Linked DNA regions of Homo sapiens: region 1 is linked to region 2. Evidence: promoter capture Hi-C in human tissues and cell types (Jung and others, 2019). All regions are on one chromosome and are shown on one strand. The core of a region is centred on a gene start or on the middle of the fragment in contact, and the rest is flanking DNA. Distances in the headings are between cores, read along the strand shown.

Region 1 (3,044 bases), core at 2-2,501, 98 kb after region 2:
CTTGCCCTCACTTTTGAAGTCATTGCCAAGGCTGCAGCTGACCTTCAATTTCCCATCCCTGTCTGTGTCCACCAGGAGGGGCAGGTTTCACAGAATAAGCTCCCTCTGTGACTTCATGGCAACATTCTTACCCTGTTTGCCACCCACATGTTTTCCATGAACAGAACAAGATGATCATATGTAGCAACGTCTACCCCCTCACCCAATCTACCTTGATGGGATATGGAATCCCAGGCTTCAGGAAAAGAGGAGTAGCAACCAAATTCAGTTTGTAGGGAGAGAGGACATATTTGATGCCAGGTATTTCTGCCTCTTCAGAAAATCCACCTAAGGAAATGGCAAGCATCATGTTGACAGTTTTTAGGAGTATCATGATCTGTATGGATATCCATTTCATCTCTATATGTCTCCACAGACTTATTCATTCACTCACTCCATTCTTGCATTCATTCATTTACCAGTAGTAAGTAGGACATAGGTCTTGCTTCAGAGGGGCACAGCAGAGAAGAGTTTAGACCTCAGGAGTTTCCAAGGCCTTATGCACAAGCTCGTATGTAGAGAAGCCCTTGGAGAAGTAGAGCTACAGGACTGGACTGAGGAAGGATGCCAGGAAGGGACACCACTTTTCATCAGTGGCCTGAGTTTCAGTTGACTGTATTCAAGGGATTGAGGAGAGAGGGAAGGGTCAGGCCAGAAACTGAGCCTTACAGAAGTGGAGGTGGGGGATGGGGGTTGGTGTTCACAGAGCATAGATACATAGAGAGAAATCAGAAAAAGGGAGCTTGATATAGAAAGAACCCTGAAAGGGAGTTCGAGACCAGCCGGGCCAACATGGTGAAACCTCATCCCTACTAAAACTAAAAAACGAAAACAAAAAAAGTGCCAGGCATGGTGGTATATGCCTGTAATCTCAGCTACTCGGGAGGCTGAGGCAGGAGAATTGCTTGAACCCAGGAGGCGGAGGTTGCATTGAGCTGAGACTGTACCACTGCACTCCAGTCTGGGCAACAGAGCAAGACTCGGGAGGGGAGGGAGGGAGGGGAGGGGAGGGGGGAGGGGGAGGGGGGAGTGGGAGGGGGGAGGGGGAGGGGAGGGGGAGGGGAGGGGAGCGGGAGGGGGGAGGGGGAGGGGAGGGGGAGGGGAGGGGGAGGGGAGGGAGGGGAGCGGGAGGGGGGAGGGGGAGGGAAGGGGACATGACCAGACAACTGGCAAGAGCCCAATAATGTTATCCTCCAGGTAAAGATTAAGTTAAACTATTAAGAATAACATTTGAAGCTTTAATATTCCCAAACTCCTTTCCAATATTACATCTCTAATACATTCTATACATATCCTATATTTTAGCCAAACTGGATGATCTGCTGTCCTCAAAGATTAAGCTTCACCATCTACTCTTCTTCATCTGCCCTCTCTCTGGAGGGTTTCTATTTCACCCTGTCTAGCAACTCTGCCTCAAAACCCTAATTATTTTTCAAGACTGATCATCTTCACAACACTGTTCTTGCTTGCTCAACAATCATCTAGAAGCTCACCTTCCTCTGAATCCTATTGCATTAATATTTTGCTTAGAGCTCATATGGAATTCTTTCTTGCAACAGTTCTTTCTTCACCTGTCTTATACCTGATGCTAATTTGTAAGCCACTTTAGTGCTGGCATCATACATCATTAATGTTTGCAAGCCTGTCTGTTTGGCAATACTTTAAATATCTCATAGATACTGCTTAAACTGAACTTATTTAAAATAAGTTGAGGAAAAAATAAAAAGAAGAAACATTAAAATAATGTTGAAAACTTTAGGCTTTAGGAAACATTCAGTTTGACTCCATCATTATGTAGACTATAATAATGATAATAGTAATAACTTTTATTTGTATAGTACTTTATCAAATAGTTTTACACACATAATCTTATTTTGGTTTTGATTTTCACCACGTGAGGACACTAGGGTGCCAAATGGTCAAGGCAGAGAGCCTGCAGAACTACTTTGGACATGAATTGGGTACTGTTTTCCCATTTTTGCAGTAGAAGTGGAGGTAATAGGGACCCAATGGCTTGTCCAATGACTAAAAAGAAGCAGAGCCCTACTGCCTTTTTATAACTATATAAAAGTCTACTTCTTATAATTATATTTAACTATGAAAGAAAATACAATGTGAAATAATTATAGAAATTGGAAATTATTTATATCTTTAATATTCTGTCTAAATATTTTTCAAAAGAAAGTATACACACACACACACACACACACACACACACTTACCTGTAGACTCTATGACTGTTACAGCAATATAAAGGTACTTGTTGTTTAAATCTTCTAAACTGTAGTATGACAGTTCTTTGACTGCTGTTTCAGAATCAAATGTGACTTGAGCAATTCCATTTATCAACTTTTTAAAAGGAGAAAAAGGAGGAGTTATTTCGGAGAAGAACTTATAAGGAAAAATTAATAAAATCTGCTTTTACTAACCTCTAAATTGAAGGTAAATGTCAGAAGAATGGTTTAGTGTCAAAAGTAAAGTAGATAACCGAGTCCACGATTAAGCCCAGGATGTTATTTTCTAATTATTTGTATAGAATTATAGAAGTAGAAGGGTCTTGAACATCACATGGTCCAACAGGTCTTTTTGGTAATAGCTGACAAACACGACTTCTTCCAATTCCTGCGTCATCATTCATCTTTATAGGCCTCTCAGCGTACTTCCGCCCTTAACTGAGAGTTTGTTGGTTTTTATAATATTTAATTTGTACTTCACTGCTTACAAATTTAAATACTAATTTTAAAACACACAATGAGTAAAGGGATGTGGGGTTAAGTCATATTATATTATTTAATTATTAACACAACAGTAAAATAAACTTTGCCTTATTTTTTCTTATAAAATTGAGCGACTTGAGGGCAGGCATTTTTGTCTTATTTAGCTTTACATCCCAGTGTCTAGCATAGAATTTTGCATTTTAAAAATGCATTTAATTTACATCTTGAATTAATAAGATTGTAGAGGATAAATGATTGATGATGCAAACCAAATGAATACGAAAAAGT
Region 2 (2,821 bases), core at 24-2,523:
ATTCACCAAGAGGTTTATATTTGTTATTATAAGGACTTTTGTGATTATTATTCATTGGGCTTCATTAACAATTCTATGACACAGAAAACAGCTTTACAGACAAGCGAGCTGCGGCTTAGGGACATTAGCAGAGCACCAGACCACACAGTGAGACAGTGGCCTCACAGCCTCGAGGCTCTCCTCGGTGTGGATGGCTTTCCCCTGTGGGAGCTGATGCCTTTCTGTGGCTTCCTCTCCTTCCACCACAGCCAGAGGGGCAGTGTCAGGGAGTGTGAGAAAAGGGTGTGGAAACTGAGGCCCAGAGAAGAAAAGTCACCGCCTGAAGTCACAGGCTCCTCTGCCCCTCACCTCCCATCAGGGGTCCCTCCCTGGCACCCACTTTCTGCCCACCCTCCGCTCCTCCATCACCTCACCTCGGGTTCTCAGAGAGACAGCCTGCACAGCAGAGAGCCCTGGGCTCCTTTGGGTCCTGGCAGACGGTGGGAGGGCACCCAAAGGGAAACTCATTCTCATCAGGGGCCGGGCGAGGACTGCTGCCTGAGCTGGAGGCCATCTCAGGGTTCCAGGCTGGCCAGAGGGCCTGTTTAAGTTGCTCCAGGGCAGGGGACCAGCCTTGTGGAGTCCTGGCCTGGGCCTCACTCTCTGGTGAGTAGGAGCTCTGATGACTTTATCTTCTTCTCTCTGGCTTGTGTGGTTCAACGTCACAGCTGAGTCACAGCAGGGATGGAGCAGGAATTACCCTTTGTGGCGATAAAAATCCCCTGGATGGTGACTGAAGGCTTTAGGAGTGTCCAGTCATTTTTTTTTTTTTTTAGAGTGAGAAAAAGCAAGAGAGCAAGTCAGAGAAAATGACCCGTGTCACAGACTCTCAGAAAGCACAGTGAGAGTTCCCCTGGTTGAGAATCGCAGGCTGCCGCTGGCTTCCCCCACTTCCCTGGGCACATCGGAGGAGGGGGCCACAGCTGGTCCCTGGTCTGTGTTCCCTGGCACCTCTGAGCAGCCTGGAATTCTCAGTGGGGGTGCTCACCTTCCTGGTGGAAATCCCCAGGGTGTTGGAGACAGGTCCAAAATTTCAAGTTCTAGGCGCTTTTGCTCTGCTCTGTTTGGAGTGTCTGGGTGACCTCAAGGAGAAGTCACTTCCTCACAGTGGGTTCTGATGACTCCATCTGTAAAAAAGAAGTTGCAACAGGTGGCCTCTGGGCTGTAAGATTCTGGGACCCTATCTTGCCTGGGACTGAGGCAACCAGAAGGAGCAGGAAAGCCCTGATGAAATCCAAGGCCTAGGACCACAGACTCCTCAGGGCCCTCCCCACACCACCCCACTCAGGAAGTCATAGGTGGCTACATGCTCCGGTCAGGTGCCACCACTTTACTGCCTCAAGGAGAACAAAGCGCTAAACAAATGCAAGATCACAGCAGCTGGTCTCAGCATCCAAGTGGGATGTAGATCCACATTTGCAGGAAAAGTGCACTGGGGAAACGATGGCTCCCAGAATGTGTACTGTGTGCTGGGCAACAGTTTCCCTCCAAATCCTTACAGCAACCTGCAAGGAATTCTTCTGCAGCTGTATATAGGGTCAGAGAAGCAAGATGCCTGGTCCAAAGGCACACAGCCTCTGGTAGTGGAGTGGGATTCACACCAGGGCTGTGGGGCCCCAAGCTCTGTGTGCTTGGGATGGAGATCAGAGTACCCAGCTCTTGTCTCATCTATCAAATGGAGAAGACAATCCCTACACATCTTTCCATCCTGCTTGGCTGCTACAGAGGTTTTGCAAACTTTCACAGTGGTTTCAGATCATGGGTTTTGAGGTCAGACAGAGCTGAGTTGAAATCCTGGGTCCACTGCTTACTAACTGTGGGCCCTGGGACAAAGTCCTTAACTTCCCTGAAACTCAGATTCTGCATCTGTAAAATGGGACAATAATACCTATTTCACCCATTTGTTGTGATGACTAAATGAGATAGTGGGTCAAAGTGTGGTGTGTAACCCAAGTGAAGTACTTGAATGACATTTGGCTCAGATGGTGACTACAGGCCTTCCAGCTCCTCAGAGAAAAGGATTAAAGTGGTGCATTATGCTTATACTGTGCTTTCACGTCTATCTACTGGAGCCTCAACAGGTGGGCAGGGCAGGTCATCTGGCCTGAGATACATTAAACTGCCCACCTGCCCTGGTGTAACACCAGGGCTGCCACAGGCTGGTGGCAAAGACAGCACGGCATCTTACCGCCACAATGTACATCAGGACCTCCACCCCCATAACAAACGACCTCCAGGCCTGCATCAAGACTATCAGAAGACACTCCCTTTTAACTGTGTACCCCATACCTGCAAGCTTTCCTGCAGCCAGCCCTACCTGTTCCCTCCTTCCCCTGGTTTGGGATAAAACAGGCACCCAAGACTTCTCTCCCCATCTGTGGGTCCCTTCTCTCCCCTCCGGCCTCAATACCACCCTCTCTACCTGCTCATTCCCACGGACATCAAAACGTGCGCAACCTGCTCTAATAAGAAAAGGGAAAAATAGTACTACTTTTGGGTACCGTCTTACGTAATTTTACAGACATCATCTCATCTAATTTTCACTCTGTGAAGCAGGTATTGCCATCATCATCCCCACCTTACAGATGAGAAAACTGAGGCACAGAGAGGCTAAGCGACTTGTTCAAGGTCTCACAGCTAGTGAGTGGGGACCCCTGAACCCAGAGCCAGTCCTGTAACCACGCACGCTTTTAAAACACTCTTTATTCTCGTCTCCAATTTCTACATCTACTCTCGCCTCACCTAACGGTAGAACTTCTAGAAAAGATTGTCTATACAGGCA

The links. Contacts are between HindIII fragments. The study calls those that stand out against the background at their distance.
Region 1: a fragment that was not itself captured here is called in contact with the fragment with the promoter of TRAF1 in region 2 in 2 of the 25 tissues and cell types used here (aorta and dorsolateral prefrontal cortex).

Annotation. Positions count from the first base shown.
Region 1 is chr9:121,023,193-121,026,236 of GRCh38, forward strand. It overlaps C5 (complement C5), which reads right to left. Exons shown (of 41, transcript NM_001735.3): 9 at 2,262-2,388; 10 at 212-327. Among named protein-coding and RNA genes, the nearest start is that of C5, 26 kb to the right of the region's middle. The HindIII fragment of the contact is 5,266 bases long and covers 1-3,044 here.
Region 2 is chr9:120,925,523-120,928,343 of GRCh38, forward strand. TRAF1 (TNF receptor associated factor 1) reads right to left here and starts at 1,274. Exons shown (of 8, transcript NM_005658.5): 1 at 1,028-1,274; 2 at 414-779. The coding sequence starts at 553. RefSeq lists enhancers at 1-426, 23-92, 553-892, 1,233-1,552. The HindIII fragment of the contact is 9,494 bases long and covers 1-2,821 here.